Linked DNA regions of Homo sapiens: region 2 is linked to region 1. The links are contacts of gene promoters, found by promoter capture Hi-C in human tissues and cell types (Jung and others, 2019). All regions are on one chromosome and are shown on one strand. Each heading gives the region's core, a stretch centred on a gene start or on the middle of the fragment in contact. The rest is flanking DNA. Distances are from core to core; before and after follow the strand shown.

Evidence for each region. Contacts are between HindIII fragments. The study calls those that stand out against the background at their distance.
Region 2: the fragment with the promoter of CGB7 here is called in contact with a fragment that was not itself captured in region 1 in 3 of the 25 tissues and cell types used here (dorsolateral prefrontal cortex, lymphoblastoid cells and mesendoderm cells).

What each region holds. Positions count from the first base shown.
Region 1 is chr19:49,196,681-49,201,926 of GRCh38, forward strand. TRPM4 (transient receptor potential cation channel subfamily M member 4) reads left to right here. Exons shown (of 25, transcript NM_017636.4): 17 at 1-194; 18 at 3,620-3,752; 19 at 3,931-4,105. Among named protein-coding and RNA genes, the nearest start is that of TRPM4, 42 kb to the left of the region's middle. RefSeq lists a silencer at 79-405. The HindIII fragment of the contact is 7,245 bases long and covers 1-5,246 here.
Region 2 is chr19:49,056,499-49,063,076 of GRCh38, forward strand. CGB7 (chorionic gonadotropin subunit beta 7) reads right to left here and starts at 1,251. Exons shown (of 5, transcript NM_001385261.1): 1 at 964-1,251; 2 at 623-750; 3 at 1-97. NTF4 (neurotrophin 4) reads right to left here. Exons shown (of 2, transcript NM_006179.5): 2 at 4,630-5,511. The coding sequence starts at 5,499. The coding sequence ends at 4,867. It also overlaps the pseudogene LOC124904739. RefSeq lists an enhancer at 1-531. The HindIII fragment of the contact is 5,956 bases long and covers 1,156-6,578 here.

The DNA of each region.
Region 1 (5,246 bases), core at 1,571-4,070:
TATTTCTGGGCTTTCACGCTGCTGTGCGAGGAACTGCGCCAGGGCCTGAGCGGAGGCGGGGGCAGCCTCGCCAGCGGGGGCCCCGGGCCTGGCCATGCCTCACTGAGCCAGCGCCTGCGCCTCTACCTCGCCGACAGCTGGAACCAGTGCGACCTAGTGGCTCTCACCTGCTTCCTCCTGGGCGTGGGCTGCCGGTGAGTGCCCCGGGGCCTTGGAACCCTGGCCCCTGGCCACCTCTCATCCTTCCTGCCCACTCCCGGGGTCTCCACTCCCGGCTTCCCCGCAGCTGGGCAGCAGGTCAAGCCAACCCTGCTGATTGAGAACCCCTCTTAGGAAAGTCGGGCATGACGATTGCCCCAGGGTAATTGGCTGGCACCTGGAGATCTGGCTTCAGGGACGGCAGGATTCAGGAGAAAACCCCACTGTCCGCCACTCAGCCTCTGCTGCTATTTATTGCTAGGCCTGAAGTTTAACAGATATTTATGGGAGCGCCCCGACCTGGGTGCCAACCTCACCTCCTCCCTTCTCTTCCTCCACATAGCTCGTTGGTCCCAGGCCCCTTGCCCTCCTGCCCCCGACTTTTTCTTTCTTTCCTTTTTTTTTCTTTCTTTCTTTCTCTTTCTTTCTTTTTCTTTCTTTCTTTCTTTCTTTCTTTCTTTCTTTCTTTCTTTCTTTCTTTCTTTCTCTCTCTTTCTTTTCTTTCTTTCTCTTTTCTTTTCCTTTCTTTTCTTTTTCTTTTTCTCTTTTCTTTCTCTCTCTCTCCCTCTGTCCTCTGCCCCTCTGCCTCCCTCCCTCCTTCCTTCCTTCCTTCCTTCCTTCCTTCCTTCCTTCCTTCTATGCTTCCTTCCATCCCTCCAAGCTAAGGGTTTAACCCTTGCCCTGCCTGCATTATGGAGTATCCTGCATTAGGATACTCCTCCTTTTGAGGAGAGCAAACAGAAAAGTTTGTGGATACAACCTGGTGACTGGTTTTTTGTTTGTTTGTTTGTTTTTGTTTTCTTTCTTTTCTTTTTTTTTTTTGAGCCAGAGTTCCGCTGTGTCGCCCAGACTGGAGTGCAGTGGTACGATCTTGGCTCACTGCAACCTCCACCTCCTGGGTTCAAGCGATTCTCTTGCCTCAGCCTCGTGAGTAGCTGGGATTACAGGCATGCACCACTACACCTAGCTAAATTTTTTTTGTATTTTTTTTGTAGAGATGGGGCTTTGCCATATTGACCAGGCTGGTCTTGAACTCTTGGCCTCAAGTGATCCACTGGCCTTAGCCTCTGAAAGTGCTGAGATTACAGATGTGGGTCACCGTGCCTGGCCAACAACCTGGTGACTGTTTACAAGGGACCTGACACATCCTGAATGGTTGACAGTGATGACAGTGATGATCCCTACTCAAGCTTTTCCCAGTAGACACGCTGAGAGGCAGGCTTCCTCTAAGCTATGTTAGCAGTGTTACAAAGTGATTCAACATAAATAATTTATTCAAGCAGGGAGCAAGATATGAGAGTTTTGCAGAACACTAATACTTCTGTTTGTAATTTGTTGTATTTTGTATAAAGTGACTTTTGAGATGAAAGGGCTAAGGCCATATGCTACCATGCTCTAGGATTGCCAGTGATATTTTGGACAGTTTATCAAGCCTACCACTTTCCAGGTGAAAAATGGAAAGATCTCAGCTTAAAAGGGAGAAACGGGCCTGGCGTGGTGGCTCATGCCTGTAATCCCAGCACTTTGGGAGGCCGAGGCGGGTGGATCACCTGAGATCAGGAGTTTGAGACCAGCCTGCCCAACATGGTGAAACCCCATCTCTACTAAAAATACAAAAAATTAGCCGGGCATGGTGGCAGGCGCCTGTAATCCCAGCTACTCGGGAGGCTGAGGCAGGATAATTGCCTGAACCTGGGAGGCGGAGGTTGCAGTGAGCCAAGATCATGCCACTGCACTCTAGCCTGGGTGAAAAGAGCAAAACTCTGTCAAAAAAAAAAAAAAAAAAAAAAGGGAGAAATGTCTAATCATCTCCGGAATTGAATGGATGAATCATCCTTTGTTTCGCCAGTTCCCTCTAGATGGACATTTAGGTTCTCTCTTTCTTTCTTTTTTTGTTTTAAATAGAGACAGGGTCTCACTCTGTTGCCCAGGCTGGTCTCAAACTCCAGGGCTCAAGCAATCCTCCCACCTTGGCCTCTCAAAGTGCTGGGATTACAGGCGTGAGCTACTATGCTCAGCCTTCTGTTTTTTTATTATTCCAAAATAATAAAAGTTTACATCCCAGATGTAAAGTTTATGGGTCAAAGGGTACATTTATTTTTGACATGGATAGATTTCCTTCTAAGTAGCTTCACTCATTTCCACACCTGCCATCAGGGTAAGAGAGTGCCCCCTTGAGGCCATGCTCGACAATGCCTGATACTTTCACTCTAAAATGTAGCTCTCAATTTAACTGAAAAAAAATTTGCCAATTTAATGGGTAAACATGACCTCTCCTTGTTATAATTTATGCACTCTTGACTACCAGATAGGTTGGACATCTTTTCCTAAGCTTAATGGCCATATGTCCTTGTGCCCCCTTGTTTTTTTTTTGGTTTTTGTTTTTGTTTTTGTTTTTGAGACGGAGTCTCGCTCTGTAGCCCAGGCTGGAGTGCAGTGGCGCGATCTCGGCTCACTGCAACCTCCGCCTCCCGGGTTCACGCCATTCTCCTGCCTCAGCCTACTGAGTAGCTGGGACTACAGGTGCCTGCCTCCACGCCCGGCTAATTTTTTGTATTTTGTAGTAGAGACGGGGTTTCACCGTGTTAGCCAAGATGTTCTCGATCTCCTGACCCCGTGATCCGCCCGCCTCGGCCTCCCAAAGTGCTAGGATTACAGGCGTGAGCCACTGCGACCGGCCACCCTCCCGTTTTTTTAATTGGGGTTCATTGATTTGTATATGTATAAATGTATATACTCCTTATACTCTGGATCCTAATCCTCGGTAGTTTTGTTGGTCTTAATATCTTCATATCTTCTCGAAGTCTGTGGCTTGTCTTTTCACTTTCACTTTTGTATGTTTCTTTTCTTTTCTTTTTTTTGAGCCTGCCTCGGCCTCCCAAAGTGCTGGGATTACAGGCGTGAGCCACCGCGTCTGTCCATACACTAGGTTTTTAATCCATCCAAAGTTTAAGTACATGAGGATGCAAAATAGGGGTAGAATTTTTATTTTCCCCATAGGAATTATTGATGTTTACTGGCCGTTTGAACGTCCTCTGTGAATTGTACGTGGTATCCTTTATCTGGCTTCCTTCCTTTTGCGTATTAGTTTGTAAGGACTCTATATGTTTTGCCTTTTATAGGTTGGACAGATATTCCGGCAGTTTTTCCAGCTTGATTCTTACAGGGACCAGCTCTTTGCTAAGGCCATCGTTCATTCAGTCATTACTTAATAGGCGCAGCCATTTTAAAAATGGGTGCCAGGGCCCTGCATGGACCAGCTTGGTACTGAATAAATTTGAGTAAACCCCGGGTGACTGGGAGGGTCCTGGTCCTGCCCGGTGGAGGCTGCAGCTTCCTCTGAAGGATGGCATTGGGAAGACTTCCATTTTCCTTGGCGTCTTGTGACACTTGACCCTTGTGGCATCTCCCCACACCCCAGGCTGACCCCGGGTTTGTACCACCTGGGCCGCACTGTCCTCTGCATCGACTTCATGGTTTTCACGGTGCGGCTGCTTCACATCTTCACGGTCAACAAACAGCTGGGGCCCAAGATCGTCATCGTGAGCAAGATGGTGAGGCAGGGGCGGGGCCAAAGTGGGCGGGGACATAGGGAAAGGGGTGGGGCCAGGGAGGGAGTGGTCCGTGGAGAAGGGGCGTGACTTTGGGGAGCAATGGGGCGTGTTTTTGGGATATAGGGGTGGGGCCAGAGTAGGAAAGGGCGGGGCCAGACTCAGCCACATCTCCCCACAGATGAAGGACGTGTTCTTCTTCCTCTTCTTCCTCGGCGTGTGGCTGGTAGCCTATGGCGTGGCCACGGAGGGGCTCCTGAGGCCACGGGACAGTGACTTCCCAAGTATCCTGCGCCGCGTCTTCTACCGTCCCTACCTGCAGATCTTCGGGCAGATTCCCCAGGAGGACATGGACGGTAGGGGGGATGACGGCCTGACAGCCTTCCTCTGAGTCTCTGTCCCCGCTCCCTGGGTCTCTGTCCTCCTGGCTCTAAGAAAATATCTGTCTCTCTGAGTCTCTGTCTCCCTCTTTCTCTGGATCTCTGAGTGATACCCTATATTCCCCATCATCATCTCTCTGGGTCTCTGCCTACCCCACCCCCTCTGTCTTTCTGTCTGTCTTTCTTTTTTCTTTTTTTTTTTCTTTTTTTTTGAGATGGATGTTAGAAATGTTTATTTTGTGGTGTCGTAAAGAAATAGTACTTGAACATAAATTTAATTTTTTTAGTAAAGCCATTTTTATTTTTTGTAGAAAGGGTACACTCGCCAGCAGTTTTGTCATGAGAGTACACGGAACAAAGGAGATAGGGTCATTTATAACCTGACGCGTCTATTTTACTGCTGTGTCTGGTTTTTATTGGCTGGAACCGGACTTTACATTTTGTATTTGTCTTGATTGGCTAGTAACTTAGAAGTTTTTAAAAGAAGCGAAGGCAGAGGAGAACAAAGGAAGGAGGAAGTAACTTGTGGAATGTTGAGAAAGGTAAAAACACTTTTAAATAAGGAAGAGGAACAGGCTATGATCTAATGCTTGCTTGAACCAGTATAAGTATGTCAGGGCAAATATTTAGGCTAAATTGTGAGAGCTAAGAACATAAAGTACATTGATTTATTTTTTATGGCTAGTAGATATTTAAGAATGTTAGCACAGGTGTTTGAATAAATTTTGTTTCTAAGAGAAGTTACTATTTATTGTTAATTAGATGGGGAGGAAAGTCTTTGAAGAGGAACCTGTACTTTACTTTTTACATGGAGTTTTGCTCTTGTTGCCCAGGCTGGAGTGCAATGGCACGATCTCAGCTCACTGCAACCTCCACCTCCCAGATCGAAGCGATTCTCCTATCTCAGCCTCCCGAGTAGCTGGGACTACAGGCGCGTGCCACCACGCCTGGCTAACAGTTTTGTGTTTTTAGTAGAGATGGGGTTTCATCACATTGGTCAGGCTAGTCTCAAACTCCCCACCTCAGGTGATCCGGCCATCTCAGCCTCCCAAAAGTGCTGGGATTACAGGCGTGAGCCACCGCGCCCGGCAGTCTTCCTGTCTTTCTTAGGTCTCTG
Region 2 (6,578 bases), core at 1-2,500, 140 kb before region 1:
GGGCTGCCGCTGCGGGTCGTGACTCCAGAGTTGGGGCGTCTCTTCTAAGCTCCAGTAGGTCAGGTAGTCCTTGCGGGGGTATCCGGACGGCTCCGTCCTGTGGGAGCAGGGCGGGATGGTGAGGATACAGCTGGATCCTTGGGGACGAGTTTCAGACCTCGGGATCTAAGGAGTCTGCACATTCAAACTCCTGCATTTCCAGGCGAGCACCCCTTAGGAAGGACGCGACCGGGCACGCGTTGCCTGCGTTCCTGGGTCCTCGAGGTACTTAACGTCCTGGAAGCTGAGCTTTCGCATCCTAGGGAAGGAAACGGGGGCTTTCGCTTCCTTGCGAAGGAGCATGTGGGGGCTCAAGTACCGAAGGAGGCCCTGCCCTCAGATCCAGAATCCCCTCGAGCCGCTGTGCAGGCTTCCTGTCCCTACCGCGGTTCCTGGAGGTGACACTAAGGACTCCTGGGTGCTAAAAGAGGGAGGGGCTGGGGTCTGAACTGTGGTTGTTGCTGCTATAGGAGTCGAGACTGAGACCACCGGTCAGGGAATGGGAGCCAGCCCAGGGGCTCGGCGTGCACCGGCCATGGCGGGGGCTGTGCAGGAGGCGGTGCCGAGCGAGAGCCCGGCTTACTTGGGATAGAACCGAAAGTCCCGCGCCGAGGTGGTCAGATAGAGCTGGCGGCGGTTCAGGACGCCCCGGTCGGATACTGTGAAGGGTGGGCCAGACAGCGCGGGGTTCTTCGTGCAGGCGATTAGAGCCTGAGCAAGATTGGGGGAGGAGGCATACCCAAGACATAGATTTCATACCCCATCCCAAGTCCTGGGTCCCGAGTTCAGAATCCCTCTCCTTCGGCCTCGACAGCCATGACGGCCACGGCCCTCACACCCCGCCCCAGGGTCAGAGCCCTTCCTGCCACCCACGCCAGGGAACTTCAGCTTCCTTTCTCATACCCGAACCCTTCCCAGCCTCACCTCCCTAAATCCAAGCCCTCCTGCTGGTCAAGGAACTCAAATGCAGGCCCCCAGCCACCACAAAATCCCCCTGGTTCTGCCCCCGGTCTCAAGCCTTCTTGGTGTGGCCACTGGAGCTGAGCTGCATCTTGGGCAACAACTCCAGGTTACCTCTCCTAACTCCCACCCTACCACGTCTCAGAATATTCTAGTCTCCTCCCCACCCACAGCCCGCCGTCTAGCTCCGCAGCAGCTTAGGAGCCCTGAAGGCGAGTTTCCAGCCCCTGGTCCTTCTGGCCTGGCGTGGATGCCCAGCCCTTCCTCCCGCTCCTCTAACCTCCCGATCCCGCCCCAGATCCTTTAGCCACGCCCCAAAGCTGTGATTTCCTTCTGGCCCCGCCCCAGGCTCCCGGAGCTCCGCTGGTCTCGCCAGCGCCGGCTTCCACCCAGACACCTGGGAAGGCCCCCCGCGGTGGTGGTCCGAGAGTTGTGAGGGGCTGGGGCCCGACGTATTTGGGGGCGCGCGCGTCCGGGCCGGGAGAGCAAGTGTACTGCGCCCTCGTCTCGCTGCTCTGGTACTTTGTGGTCAGTAGGAGGGTTCAGCTGCGGTGTCTGAGCTGCGGAAAGGCAACCCAGAGACTCATGTGAAGGAGCAGGGGACTCAAATGCAGTCCCCCGCAGACTCCGGCGCTCCCCAAATCTTACCTTTTCTCCTGAATCCTTGATCCCCACAGTCCGCGTGGGGTCTGCAGGCTCTGGGGCTCTGGGCTGGGCGCAGGGCCCGCCATGGGTCTTGGGCACGTAGGCCGAGCCAGAGGTTGTCTCCCATCTGCTGAGGACCTCGTCGAAAGCCCAGATGCGAGAATCCTGCTTTGCAGTCGGAGGTAGAGGGTCCGCGACCGTGGACTGGAGAGAAGGCGCCGCACATCAGCTAGAAAGACTCAGGAGTCCCTATCACCCCCCACCCCAAACTCTGACCTCTTCCAGTCGGCCCCCAGCCCTTTCCTCTGCAGTCCCTGGCATCCAAATTCCCTGGCGCCTCCTCTCTCAGACCCAGGACTCCAGGACCCTCCTCCTTCAGAGAGGAGTCCAAGCTCCCAATCCCCTTTTCTCAGCCCCCATCTTTCTGGGTCCCCAGGCCCCGCAGGGCTTCAGCCTAGGGTCTGCCCACCTGCACCGTGGGCGGGGGGAAGGGTACGGGTGGGATAATGCCATGGGTAACGTAGCTGCTGGTGAGATGCCAGTTGGGCCAGGATTCAGGCATCTCGGTTGCAGAGATGAAAGACCACGGGGGGCCACAGCGCACAGCCAGGGTGCCACTGGCCATGGTTCCACCCCCTCCCTGTAGCCAAGCAGGAGCTGGTTTGTTGCTGTTGCCCCAGGTGACAGAACCCGCCCACCCCAATCCAGCCAATGAAAGGCCTGCAGGCACATGGATGGATGGAGTGATTAAGAGACCCAGAGACAGAGAGACAGGGACTCCAAGAGGGGCACAGAGAAACACGGAGTGGGGGATGGAGAGTCAGAAAGAGGCGGACAGAAGGGGATGGAGAAGTTCAGGATTTCAGAGACCCAGGGGGTGGGGGAGACAGAGACACAGAAAGAAGGACAGAGACCTGGGGGTGTCAGAGATACAGACAGAGACCCCTGCACTGCCCCCAGCACCTCAGGACATCCATGAGAAACACCCCCCTTTGCTCCAGGGTCCAGAACCTCCTGGCTGCTTCCTCCCTCTGCCAGGCCTGCCCACCTCGGGGTAACGATTTCCAGATGTCCCCGGGGCTCCCCAACCCTTCCCGCACGTGCTGAAGGAGTCAGCGCTGGTGTCAGCTGTCCTGCCTGCCTTTGATTTGGTTGAAAACTTCCACCTGGGTAGGCTGGGTGGGGAAAGAGAAAGGGATCTAGAGAGAAGTGCACCGGACCATAGCGAAAAAGATGGGCTTTGATGAGTGAGGAATAAATACAACAAGAAAGGGGAGAGACAGGGAGGAAGAAAGAGACCACGATGGAAAGGGAGCTATTAGTACTACCCAGAGGCGACAGACACTGGAAGTTAGAGACAGAGATGAAGGTGGCAAAAACGACCAAAGTCACAGATGGAAAACAAGGAGACGTAGAAACTGAGGCAGCCACGCCCCACCCTGCCCAGGGGCCTGGTCTGTATAGATGCGGGGAGAAGTTGCCTATGTCCTTTGCTCAAAGCTGGACCTGAGAGAGAGAGAGAGAGTTGGTGGGGCGATGGGTAACATGTGAAGGGCTATTGTGAAGGCCTGTGGTCTGTCCCTGGCTTCCCTTGTCACTTCTTCACTATAAACAGCTTTTGATCACCGGGCGCAGTGGCTCATGCCCGTAATCCCAGCACTTTGGGAGGCCGAGGCATGCGGATCACTTGAGGTCAGGAGTTTGAGACCAGCCCGGCCAACATGGCGAAACCCTGTCTCTACCAAAAAATACAAAAAGTAGCCGGGCGTGGTGGCGCACACCTGTAATCCCAACTAAGGCAGAAGAATCACTTCAACCCGGGAGGTGAAGGCTGCAGTGAGCTCAGATCACACCACTGCACTCCAGCCTGGGTGACAGAGCGAGACTCCATCTCAAAAAAAAAAAAAAAAAAAAAAAAAAAAAAAAAGCTTTTGGTCAAGGCCTCTGACTGCTCAACCCCCATTATCTCATCCTACCAGCCCATTCTGCAGACAAGGAAAACTGAGGCTACTTTCTGCAGCCATGCCCAGGATCCCACTTACCCCTCCTCCCCCATTCAGGCTTCTGGGGCCTTTCTGTTGGATTTTGCTGGCCCTACTCAACAGCTCTCAATGGACAGTGACCCCCTGATCCTAGCCAGGGGGCCGATGAGTTAGTCAGAAACTCATGCCCCACTCAAGCTGGACAAAATTTTTTTCTTTTTTTTGAAATGGAGTTTCGCTCTTTTTGCCAAGGCTGGAGTGCAATGGTACAGTCTTGGCTTACTGCAACCTCTGCCTCCTGAGTTCAAGCAATTCTCCTACCTCACCCTTCAGAGTAGCTTGGATTACAGGCATCCGCCACCACGACCAGCTAATTTCTTTATATAATTTTAGTAGAGTCGGGTTTTCACCATGTTGGCCAGGCTAGTCTCGAACTCCTGACCTCAGGTGATTCACCCACCTCGGCCTCCCAAAGTGCTGGGATTACAGGAATGAGCCATCGCACCTGGCCATCAAGCTGGAAAATTTTAAGGTCTGTTTCTTTCCCAATGTAGAGTAAAGGTTGGGACAGGGAAGAGGGCTAGAAACCTGACTTCAGCTCCCTGCCGAGGGCTGAACTCTCCAGCATCCTGATCACTTCTCATTCAACCTTGCTTGTACTCCTCTGTGATCGGTAGCTTATTACCTCAAAACAGAATATTCTAAGTCAACCTTTGCCCCCTCTTACCAAGTAAGATTTCCCATTTGAACCCCATCTCCCAGATACTTAAAGGCCTTCTGTGGGCCACGTTCTCAAGGTCCCCTGGCCATCTGCTTGCCTGTTCTAGTTTCTCTCCTCCTCCACCCACATCGTGAAATGTCCCCTCCCACTCCCCAGCAAGGTGGTGTCCTCTGAGACTGAGTAGTCAGCAACTTAACACCAAGGGCCACCAATGATCAAATCCATGAGAGTTGATCTGAGGAGTTATGTATTAGGGATAAGAAACAGTAAACACTCAGTAAATAGTGGCTATTATTATTATATCATCATCATTATTACCCTCAAGTTGCTCCAGGAGAACTCCTATTCAACCTCCAAAACCCCATGTGGTTTCACCCATCCTGCAGAGATTGAGCTCAAAATCAGAGAATTGTGATTTTGTGATTATTTGATGAGTTCCCAAACTGGGGTCCTTAGATCAGCTGGGCCATCCCTGAGGTCTCTCAGCATCCAGCTCTGTTATTTTCCTGGGCATGGGTCTCAGGCCCGGCCAGTCCGGCTGAGGAGTGTGCAGACGCAGGCAGTGTCAATTCGAATCCATCGCCAGCCCACACGGCCCTGGGCATCAGCGGTCAATGCCCGCACATAGGACTGCTTGGCCTTGCACTCAGATACCCAGTGCCTCCTGTCCACTCCCCGGCAGCCCCCTCCACCTGCCCCCGGGCCACCTTCCTCAGCGTTATCAGCCTTGCAGCGGGTTTCAAAGAAGTACTGGCGGAGGGGACTGCCGCCAGCTGCAGGCACCTCGCCCAACACCTCCACCTCGCGCCCACGCAAGTCCACAGCGGTCCGGCGGTCTGTCACCCAGCCACTGACTGCATCGCACACAGCCAGCTCACCCCGACGACTCGCTGGTGCAGTTTCGCTCACCCCACGCCGGCTGCGGTTGGCCGGGGCACCTGCTGACTCCCGAAAGGCCCCAGCCTCCAGCAGGAAGAGCAGAGGGGGCCCAGCAGGGGCACCCCTAGACAGGACTACTCGGGGGGAGAGAAGGTCCCACTCAGGGGCCAGAAAAGGGGGCAATGTTGAGGGTGGGGGTTGGGACTCAATTGGCACACTGGGGAGGAGGAAAAGGAGGAGGATGGGGAGGGAGCATGAGGGGAGAGGGAGCATCTCTCGGAGCACCTGGAGACAGAAAGAGGGAGGCTGGGATTAGAGAAGGGGGTAAAAACTTCAGTGGGGAAAGAAGTTGGGAACCCCAGGGGAGGCTTGCCTGCCAGGATTGTGGGGAAGCCCTTGTTCTAGAAGTTTGGGGGACCCTATATCTAGGGCTTGCGTAATGCGCAACTTGTAGATTAATAATAAATATTCAACTACTACAGGCCAGGCACTGTGCCCCACACCTCTAATCCCAGCACTCTGGGAGGCTGAGGCAGGTGGATGACTTGAGGTCAGGAGTTCCAGAGCAGCCTGGCCAACATGGTGAAACCTCATCTCTACCAAAAATACCAAAATTAACCGGGCATAGTGCTGCACGCCTGTAATCCCAGCTACTCAGTAGGCTGAGGCAGGAGAATCACTTGAACCCAGGAGGCCGAGGTTGCAGTGAGCAGAGAGTGCACCACTCCCCTGCCACCTGGGCGACAAGAGTGAGACTCTGTCTCAAAAGTAAAAATAAGGCCAGGCATGGTGGCTCACACCTGTAATCCCGGCACTTTGGGAGGCCGAGATGGGCGGCTCACCTGAGGTGAGGAGTTCCAGACCAGCTTGGTCAACATGGTGAAACCCCTTCTCTACTAAAAATACAGAATTACCCGGGTGTGGTGGCGCATGTCTGTAATCCCAGTTACTTGGGAGGCTGAGGCAGGGCAATCACTTGAACCCAGGAGGTGGAGGTTGTGGTGGGCTGAGATTGAACCATTGCACTCCAGCCTGGGCAACAAGAGCGAAACTCCGTCTTAAAAAACAATAATAATAATAAAATAAAAATAAAAATAATTCAACTACTATTACTTAACAGTAACAGATGTTGAAATACAGGCTCAGAGAAGTTAATGATTTGTGCCCGGTCACACAGCCAGCAAATGGCAGAGATGGGACTTCACCTCTGGGCAACTGCACTCTGCCGTCCTTCCTGTGCAACTCTGAGGAACCGACAGTCTTGCATCTTGGAGGATGTTCCAAACAATTTTTTTTTTTTGAGACAGAATCTCACTCTGTTGGCCAGGCTGGAGTACAGTGGCACAATCCTG